Linked DNA regions of Homo sapiens: region 1 is linked to region 2. The links are contacts of gene promoters, found by promoter capture Hi-C in human tissues and cell types (Jung and others, 2019). All regions are on one chromosome and are shown on one strand. Each heading gives the region's core, a stretch centred on a gene start or on the middle of the fragment in contact. The rest is flanking DNA. Distances are from core to core; before and after follow the strand shown.

What was found. The method cuts DNA at HindIII sites, captures the fragments that hold promoters and counts their contacts. A contact is called where the count stands out against the background at its distance.
Region 1: a fragment that was not itself captured here is called in contact with the fragment with the promoter of NRROS in region 2 in 1 of the 25 tissues and cell types used here (lymphoblastoid cells).

The regions. Positions count from the first base shown.
Region 1 is chr3:197,187,918-197,193,531 of GRCh38, reverse strand. The region is part of intron 5 of DLG1 (discs large MAGUK scaffold protein 1); the gene reads left to right. Among named protein-coding and RNA genes, the nearest start is that of MIR4797, 100 kb to the left of the region's middle. The HindIII fragment of the contact is 5,025 bases long and covers 826-5,614 here.
Region 2 is chr3:196,637,270-196,642,199 of GRCh38, reverse strand. NRROS (negative regulator of reactive oxygen species) reads right to left here and starts at 2,506. Exons shown (of 3, transcript NM_198565.3): 1 at 2,325-2,506. RefSeq lists enhancers at 152-211, 232-581, 1,750-1,869 and silencers at 2,320-2,419, 2,440-2,869. The HindIII fragment of the contact is 16,873 bases long and covers 1-4,930 here.

The sequences.
Region 1 (5,614 bases), core at 2,089-4,588, 550 kb before region 2:
GATATGGATTTATTTTCAGGTTATTACTAGTGTAAAAAGTGCTTGTAAAAACACAGGTTATATATACATCTTTGTGGATAAAGCCAGCTTGTTTCTCAGTAGCTGTGTCATTTCCAGTTTCAGCAGGAACATCTAACAGTTTTTAATTGATCCATGTTCTCTTCAATCGGTATTCTTATTTTTGGCATTGTTTTGGTTTCAAAATGGTATCTGAGTGTGATTTTAATGGGAATTTTACTAGGGAGGTATGATATATTTATTGGTCCTTTAGGTTTCCTTATCTGTTACGTGCCCATTTAAGATTTTTGCTCATTTTTGTATTGGGTCGTTCTTTTTATTGATTTGTATTTCTTTTATATTCTGAATATTAATCCTTTGTTGGTTGTGTGTATTTTCATTAAGGATCATTTCTTACTAGTAAAATTTACCTGGATTTTGTAATTCTCTTTGAGGAGTGATATCATACTACTGGTTAAAATTTTTAATGGTTATAGTACGATTCAGATTTTCTATCAGTTAATTTTGCTAGGCTATTTTTTTCTAGTAATTTTTAACATTTCAGATATATTTTCAAATTATTATTTATGATATCCTGCTAATACCTTTTAATATCTATAGCATATGTAGGCATGGTCCCTTTTTTATTCATAATATCACTTATTTCAGACTCTTTGTTTTCCGTCACCATTCTTGCCAAAAGTGTCAATTTCAAAGATGGTCTTTTCAAAGAACCGTCTTAAAAAAACAATTATCTTGAGTCCCTGCCCTGTTTGCCACCACCCTTACCCCTCTGTTCTTATACACACATACACATACATAAAGACATGTTTATGTATGTACATTCATATGTGTATATGTAAATATAAGTTACATGTAGGATAGCTGAATATCAATTAAAGATAGTGTTCAGTATAAGTAATCTGATCCTCCCTTGGGGAACTAAAAGAGAGTTAAGGAGAGTAAACAGCCAAAAAATCTGATTTTTTGGCTGTTTACCAGTTAGTGGCAGAAACAGTTCTTCTATCTTTTCTTCCTTTCTCTTTTTATCATTATTATTTTTTTCTTTTTTGGTTTCTTTGAGTTTATTCTGTTTTCTTGTTTTTCTAGTTTCTCAAGTCACTTGCTTATTGCACTAATTACCAGCCTTCTTTTCTAGTAGTATTCTTTTATAAATGTTTCTTGAAACAGCATTTTTAAATGTATCCCACAAGTTTGAATATGTAATGTTTTCTTATTGTATTTTTTTAATGTCTGATGTGATTTGTTTTTTGTTAGCCTCGTGAGTTACTTAGAAGCGTGTTTAATTCTTAAACATTAGAGACTATTCCTTCCATTTTGTCTTTTTTGTTTTTGTTTTTCTGAGACAGGGTCTTGCTCTGTTGCCCAGGCTGGAGTGCATTGGCAGTCATAGCTTACTGCAGCCCCAAACTCCTAGGCTCAAGTGATCCTCCCAGCTCTGCCTCCCAAGTAGCTGGGTCTACAGGCACATGCCATCATGCTTGGCTATTTTTTTTGTTTGGTAGAGACAGGGTCTTGCTCTGTTGCCCAGGCTTGTTTTGAACTCCTGGCCTCAAGTAATCCTCTTCCCTTGACCTCCCAAAGTGCTGAGATTACAGGTGTGAGCCACTGCACCTGGCTCATATCTTCTTTTGGATTGTATTTTCTCATCTCACTTTCCCTTATTACTAGCTTGGAAGTTAAAAATTGTTTCTCTTCCTTTAGTGGTTATTGTAGAAATTTTAATATATGTTTAACTTTTAAAAGTCTAAAGTAAATAAATGCCATTCACTCTTACTCCAGACAACATAAGAACCTCAGCACGGGTAAAGCCCTAACACTGCTTGTTGAATGTGCTGTTCTTGTCAGCCTGCTTTTATCTTGATTGAGTTAATCTAATTTATTTATTATTTTTGTCCAAAAACACTCCCAGGATATGTATAATTTTTTTATTTCTGATGTTTTGAATTTCCGGTCATCCTTATTGTTACAAACCAACCAAAGCCAATTTGCACATGGCCAACTCTGGTCTTTTGGTAGGTATTTTAGTAGTTATTTTGGTGTGTTTGCAGATTATGACACAAGCAGACATTTAAACAGTGAGCCAGCATGCATATTTTATGTAGCCTATTCTTTAAATCTCATGAAACCTCAGCTTTCCGTTGTTGCCTAAAATGCTCATTCTAAGCAGATAAAACAATGTTCCAGACACAAGATTTTGTTTACCCAGAGTCTCCAGATGTCTTAGGGATTAAACCTAAGGTGTTATCCCTAAGGGTTTAGGCCTCTCCAGAGTCTTCCGTTTCCCTTATGCAAGGGTGTATTATGTCTCTAAATTAATTCAAAAAATTCACATAACTGGGATGCTATGGATTTCACCAGTGAAATCCCATTTTGCTGATTAATAAGCCACTACCTTCATCAGTGAAAACCTACTTCATTATAATTGGGAAGACTTTTTGTGTAAATCAAAGATTAATATGACAAAACCCCCCTTTCTGTTGTTGTTTTGTTTTGTTTTGTTTGAGTTGAAGTCTCGCTCTGTCGCCCAGGCTGGAGTGCAGTGGCGCGATCTCGGCTCACTGCAAGCTCCGCCTCCCGGGTTCACGCCATTCTCCTGCCCCAGCCTCCCGAGTAGCTGGGACTACAGGCGCCCGCCACCACGCCTGGCTAATATTTTGTATTTTTAGTAGAGACGGGGTTTCACCGTGTTAGCCAGGATGGTCTCGATCTCCTGACCTCGTGATCCGCCCGCCTCGGCCTCCCACAGTGCTGGGATTACAGGCGGGAGCCACCGCGCCCGGCCGACAAAACCCTTTTAGCAGCCATCTCCGTATATGATTCTTGTAATTAAATGCAAGGTGATCAATCTTGGGATGTGAATTGGAACGCAGACTGGCCTTTGGGAGGTTTACAAGTTCTCCAGGTGTTTCTAATGTGCGGGCACAGTTGCGAAGCATTGTGCCACCACTATTACGGCTACTATAGTTGACCCTTGAACAACACGAGTTGGAACTGCACTGCTCCACTTATATGCGGATGAAACAAATGCAGATTTCAAACAAATGCAATCAAACATAAAAGTATTTGTAGGATGCAAAACCCAAGTATACAGAGGGCTGACTTCCTGTAAGTGCATAGCTGACTTCAGGACTTCAGTATGTGAGGATTTGGGTACAGTATGCGAGGATTCACGGGGGACTAGTCCTGGAACTAGTCCCCCGTGAATGCAAAGCTTGAGGTATTTTCCTGCACTACTGTGCTATCTGTGTTGAGCTATTAATATTTACAAGTAAACTTCTGACATCATTTGTCGAATCCTCCTTCTAGAGTGAGAGACTTAAATTGATAGTATTGAGAGAGAAAGCATTCATACTTTAAGATTTTCACTGCTTTCTTAATCTGATTCATTTCTTCCTTAATTTTCTGACCATAAGAGATGAGAAGTCAGTTTTTTGGTATCTGCTTTAAATTGCTTTTTCTTTACATATACTTGCTTTTTGTTTATTCTGACAATGATAAAGGATTATGTCCCTCACAGCTTTTTAAAGAAATATTTTATAGAGGCTTAAAGGAGTATGTTATTAATTAAAGTGTCCTTTATCATCAGTTCTAAGACTTACCTTTTCCACATTTACCATTTCTGAAATTGGTGGAAATCTTGCAGTTGCTGGCATTTTGTCATGGCCTTATCTGAGTGGCGATCTTTGTGTAGTCATATGTAAACCTTTCCTGACACGTTTTGTTAAGATCAAGAAAGTACCAGCATGCTTTCCTGAGTCTTAGGATATTATGATAATCATTCAGCTGGTTCTATGAGAAGCGTCTGAAAACCTGGCCATCTTTGTGGGCCATTCTCTTGCTCTGCCTTGTTCATCTTGTTCTCTTTTGTTAGGTATTAACAGGATCAGTCTCTGAAACAATTATAAACCATCCTCTGGGGTTCTTAAGTGAAACCACTAGTCCCCTTTCCCTCACTAGTCCCCTTTCCCTCACTTTGGTTTGCTGGCTGTCTGATTCATATTTGCAAACTGAGTAGATAAGGATTTTCAATCCCAGCAGAAAAAAATTGTGTGTATTCTCTATCATTTGTTTCTAAATCACACTTTAATATGTTAATGTTTTTTCCTATTGTAAACTTGTTAAACATATTTTCTTGTATATTTCCTGTGTAATATGATGTATCAAGTTTTTAAAAATTTAAACTTTAAAAACTTTAAACTTGATACATAATATTGCCTGATATATTTGCACCATAATTTGATGACCATGTCAGCTCTCAGATATCTGTTATCTCTATTTTTATTAGGTTTTGTAAAGAAACCTGCAATGAGTAATCTTTGGACATGAAAAGTATTTAGTTTCTTTCCTTTGGATGGATTACCAGAAGTCAGATTACTGAGTCAGAAGAATATGAACGTTTCTCAAGTTCTTGAAACTTTCTGACAGATTGTATTCTGATAGAATTGTAATTTAAGAATGATTAAGACTGTTTCGTTTGGGGAATTTCTACCTGCTTCCCCTCTTTCATTCCTAGGTTACTGTGGCAGATGCCACGTAAAATAATTATTTGAGGGGTGTAATAGATTTGGAGCAGGTGAGCATTATAGCAGAGTAGGTAGGGTTCCTTTAACTTTTTGTTAGAAAACCGGAATTGAAGGAAAACAACCCTTATTTTGACATAAGAAGGCAAGCTTTAATGCTTTTTCATCTTAATTTTTAAAAAACCAGAATGTTATAAGAAGCTCAACAATTTATTTAAAATACAGTGTCAAGTATTAGACTAGTAGTCTCTTTTTTAAAATAAAAGCTAATATAGAGAGCTTTTCCTCTTTTATAGTATTGTGGTTTGGAGTGAACAGCTGTTACGCTGCATGTAGAAGTCAGTATATGAATTATTATTTTATAATTTGAAAAAGTATCTTAGAATTAACAGTGGTTTGCTGAGTAGATTGTAAATTAGGCACAGCTTTAGTCTTCACAATTCTAATAAAAGCTAATGGTAAAAATAAAATTTAATAGATGCTTTAAAAATCAACTGCTAGGATATTAGTTGTGTCAAGCAATACATGCATTTAGCAAACAGTTATTAAACATCTGTGCTAGTAACTGTGTTAGACATCAGTGATTAGTATTTTTTTACGGAAAGATAGTTAACACAGTATGATGTGACATGAAAGAGGGAGAAATTAAATTCTTGGAGTTTTCTGAAAAAAGCAAGTTGACATTTGCATAAAGTGTTGAAGGATGTGTAAGATGCCAAGTCAGAGGAGGAGGCCGTTACTGGGGTAAATAAATACAGTGGAAGGGTGACAATCACAAGAAACTGTAGAAATGCAGGAAGGTTTATGTTATTATTGCTGATACTTAGGGTGCATGTTAGGAAATGAGGGCAAAATCTAAAAGACCTGTATGATGAATGTTCTTATGAAAGGTTTGCCACCATGAAACATGCCGTGAATTAATCTATTAGATTATTGTGGTGGTGGTGGTGGTGGTAGTGGATGGTGGTGGCTCTCCTTACTGGAATAATGAGTAAAGTAAGATAGTGATTGGGTTACTTTATTCAGGGCTTGGCATAAAGATAATTATGATTTTATAATTTAAGACTCTGAAA
Region 2 (4,930 bases), core at 1,257-3,756:
TGCACGTGAGGCTTATAAGAGCTAAGATCCAAGCACTGATGTCCTTTTTCCTTCACGTCTCTGAGCTTTCAGAAATCATCACCTAACCTAGCCCTGAGCCCCATCACAGAATGACCACATGACATTTGCTTCATGATGAAGTTGAGAAAAATGGTTTGGGAGGAAAGTGAGTATAATAAAGAAGTTCCACCAAAGGCAAAAACATGACAAATGTTTGTCACTGATGTGCGATGACACATCAACAAGCATCAGTGAGCACAGACATCTGTAAGTGTGTCATACACACAGCATGTCCTAAGAAAGACAGTGTTTTCAGTCGTGGTTGAAAGTCCACCCTCTCCTGACTTCTGAGGCTCTAAAATGGATCTGCGCCTGATGTGAGGGACAGTCATTGTCCATACGAGAGTCTGGTGCACACTGTGCAGTGTGGACGCACACCGCAGCCAGAATGCAGGTTGTCATCAGTACTAGCATCTCTCTTCCAAAAGAGTCAAGACTGGAGACAGACAGGTCAATGTACTCTTAATGCACACCCCAGAACAAAGATACTAGGCGTCTGCTCTCTGTTTTGGAGTCTACCAGGTATGTCTCATCATCAAAGAGCAGGAACTCTTGGATGATGAATTTAAAAACTATAAGAGAATGTGTTTTCATGAAGTTCCCATGAGGGCACTCATTACATGAAAGCTGGGGGCGGTGACTCACGCCCACACTCCCAGCACTTTGGGAGGCCAAGGCAGGAGGATTGCTTGAGCCCAGGAGTTTGAGACCAGCCTGGGCAACACAGCAAGATCCTGTGTCTACAAAAAAATTTTAAAAATTAGCTGGCATGGTGGTGTGCACCTGTTGTCCTAGCTCCTCAGGTGACTGAAGCAGGAGCATTATTTGAGCCCAAGAGTTTGAGGCTGCAGTGATCTGTGATCGTGCCACAGAACTCCAGTCTGGGCAACAGAGCAAGAGCCTGTCTCTAAAAATAAATAAATAAATATATATATTTTTAAAAAGTGCCTTCTTTGTGAAGCTGAGTTTGTTTTGTTTTGTTTTGTTTTGTTTTGTTTTTTTAACCTAAAGGCAGGAGTTAAGGTTTTTTCCTGGGCCCATGATTCTATAATCTCCTTTAGGGACTCTCGGGCACACACACACAAACCTAAGAGGTGTGTGAGGAGAATAAATACGTATTGTAAATGTAAAGCCCAGCAAACCCTCAGCATCCACAGAACAGTCTGTGTGTCACAGCCGGCAGGTGAGGAGCACACAGGAAAGCATGGAGGGCCACAGACGCTGAATGTTTCTAGCACCCAGACTCCTAACGGGCTGTGCCCATCATGAAGAAGCCTCCGGTGGGGTCCCCTCAGCCCCTAGGGAAGCACAGCAGCCCCGACCAGCCCTGTCCGGAGAGGCTCCATTCCTAGGACCCCCGATCCGGCCTCCTCCAGTCGCAGCCACCAACTGGCACGTGTCCACCTTCTCTCAGAGGCAGCACAAAGCCACACCAGTGGCTCCTTACTTCTTTCCGTCTAGCTCCTGGGTACGTGGGGAAGTACGCTGACCCCTTCAGAAGCCGGCCCACATGCAGGGGCCACGAGGGCTACGGAAGAGCGTCCGAGTCTTCGTCGCCCTCCTGTTAGTCTCCCTCTGATAAGCCATGGATCTAAGTCTAGGCTAAGATCCAAGTCACAGAGCCCCAGTGAATCTCCCAAGGACAAACGTTCTGTGGGAGAAGGGGCTTTGCACATTTTCACAGCTGTATCCCCAGGGCCTTGGACAGGCCTGGCACGTGGACGGCATCTGTGATAGGTGTTGCTGTTAACCAGTCTTAGTGTCTTCATCTATGAGATAGTGGTTCTCAATCCACGTTGTGGGACAGGAAAGGAGAGCCCAGTGCTCAGCATGCTGAGTGTGCACAGAGCGGTCTCATCATATCCAGTCGCCCAGCCCAGGGAGGGAGCATCTCTGTTCCCATTTTGCAGATGAGAAAACTGAGGCTCAGAAACCTTAACTGTCTGCTCACATGCTCCCTGCAGAGCCAGGACTCAAACCCACGTCTGAATCTGAAGCCCTCGTGGTTTCCACTACGTCGCACCACCTTTCTCAGCTCTAAGTGCTCCTGGAGGGAGGTATTTCCACCTCCACCCAGAGCTGCAGCCCCCACGCCCAGCACAAAAGCGGCGGCGCTTGGACGCAGCAAGCCACAGCTTCCTCGTGAGCCCTGAGCTGCGGGCCGCGGACGCTGACCTCCTACCACCCAACCTCGCTCGAGCTCGCCCACCTGGAGAAGGGCCCCGGCTGTGCCCCGGGGACGCCCCCACGCGGGAAATACTCACGGCTCCCGCAGGCGCAGGCGGCTGCGCGGGGCGCATCGTCTCCGGGGGCTCCGGCCTCCTCGAGAGCAGCCGAACGCGGGGCTGGGCTACCTCCTTGCTGTGGGGCATCAGATTATTTTAGCACCAGCGGAAGGAACGGACGGAAACTGAAGTCACATGGAGAGCGGGCTGCTCGGCGACTCAGCACAGGCTCACTCAGACCCGGCCTCTTAGAGGGAAGCGCGGCGCGGGCGCGGGGGTGGGGCGGGCCGGGGGAGCGGGGCCCGAACACCTGCCGGCCTAGCGGCCGAGCAGCGGGGATGTTTAGACGATCTTCCAGCAATGCGACCGAGGCTCCCCCGGCTTTCTTGCGTTGGTGCCTTGGCAGGGCTGGGGGCGGCCAGCTAGGGGCCCCTTGCCTATGAGGTCTGCTGACCCAGAAACTTTGCTACGAGCTTCCAGCCAAGGACCAAGCTGAGGCCGACTTTGGGAACGGCAGCACCGTGGTAAAGAGGCACAGCCTGTCGTCTGGCAGGGTCAGCCGCTCAGCCAGTCTGTCTTCTTATCCACTCAGCCGGTCCTTGTGGATCATCTCCTTTACGGACCCTGTGTTAGAAAGAAGGGGAATTGCTTTGTCGAGGACTGTCAGAGAGTGCCAAGAGCTTCTTGATCTTAGACTGCGCGGATGGGTTTTTTTGTACCTGATGTGTACAAAGTTCCCTGCCAGCTCTTGCCAAGAATTCAAAGGAGTAAGAATAATTGATCATATAGCCATCATTGAAGCAGCGCCAGACACTGTGCTAAGAGCTTCATATGCATTACCCCAGCGCTCCTGTTCTCGAGGAACTACTGTCGTCTAGAGAAGGTGAAATATTTACAGTGCCTGCTGCGTGTGGAGTGACGTGGACCACCATAGTCGGGGGCTCAGACAAGGGGCCTCCAGTTCTGATCTCTCTCACTCCCCTTCAAATCTGAAACGTTGAACTGTCCTGCAGGATTGGGTCACCTCTCTTATAGCCTGTGATTTGGGATTGTGTGTAGCATTGTCCATCCTAAGAGAACAGGAGCCAAGTCCTTTTCACTCCAAACATCTGGCACATTGTCTCTGCTTTCTACAATATTCACTCATGGCCGGGCACAGAGGCTCAGGCTTGTAATCCTAGCATTTTGGCAGACCAAGGCAGGTGGACCGCCTGAGTGCAAGACCAGCCTGGGCAACATACTGAGACTCCATATGTACAAAAAATTTAAAACTTAGCCAGACCTGGTGGCACGCACCTGTAGTCCCAGCTATTTGGGAGGCTGAGGTGGGAGGATCACCTGAGCACAGGGAGGTTGAGGCTGCAGTGAGCCAAGATCACGCCATTGCACTTCAGCCTGTGTGATAGAGTGTGACTCCGTCTTTAAAAAAATAAAAATAATTTTAAAAATAAAATATTATCTCATAATGGTAATAACAATCACACCAATGAAAAAGCTAAATAAAGATCAAATTGTTGCAAACCCAGGTGCTTGATTCAGGCCTCTTTCTCTCTTGTATGCACATTCTCTACTTCATGTCTTTTGTGTCTACCAATCAGTTGGTAACTCCCCAATTTTAATTTCTAGCTCCAACATTCTCTTCCACGAGAGAAGATCCAGACTTGCATTTTTAACTGTCTACTGGTCAATCAACTGCTACATGTCCCAGAGTCACCATAACATGATGTATCCCAAACTCAACTCTCTCTCTTTTTTTTTGAGACAGTCTTGCTCTGTCACCCAGGCTGGAGCAGTGGCGCAATCTCAGCTCACTGCAACCTCTGCCTCCCAGGTTCAAGTGATTCTCCTGCCTCAACCTCCCAAGTAGCTGGAATTACAGGCGCCCACCACCACGCCCAGCTAATTTTTGTGTTTTTAGTAGAGATGGGATTTCACCATGTTGGCCAGGGTGGTCTCAAACTCCTGACCTCAGGTGATCCGCCCACCTCAGTCTCAGAGTCCTGGGATTACAGGCATGAGCCACTGTGCCTGGCCCCAAACTCAACTCTTATCCTTTGTCCCAGCAGTTTCTCTCCTGTATGGCTGTCACACTTTACGGTATGTTTCAGCCCAGGCAGTCCAGCCCTCACAGACTTCATCCTTCATATCTAATTGACCCCCAATTCCTGCTGATTCTAACTCAGAAATGTTTCTGGAATCCAACCTGCTTTTCATCCTTAGGCTGTTGCCCTGGGTCTAGACCTCATCAGCTCATGTCTGGACCACTTTCATAGCCTCCTGAAACTCGCTCCCTGCCCCTAATCTCATCCCTGTCCAATGTCAACTCCACCTAGCTGCCACGGGCATCTTTCTAAAATGTGTATTGGGTCATCTCACTCTCTGCTTAAAGCCCTTTTACAGGGTTCAGCAGGTTCAAGGGTTCCTCATGAATGCCTAAAGACTGGCAGGTGGGATCCAGGTACCCCATTCCCTCCACATCCCAAGAATTCTACTTTGATATGTTTTATACATTGGGAGATTCTCTATAGAATTTCTTTTGAGAAAGGCAGCTGCTACCCCTAAAAAAAAAATCTAGTAAACCAATGGTCTTTTTTTTTTCTTTTTAATTCTTTTTCTTTCTTTTTTTTTTTTTTTTTTTTTTTTTT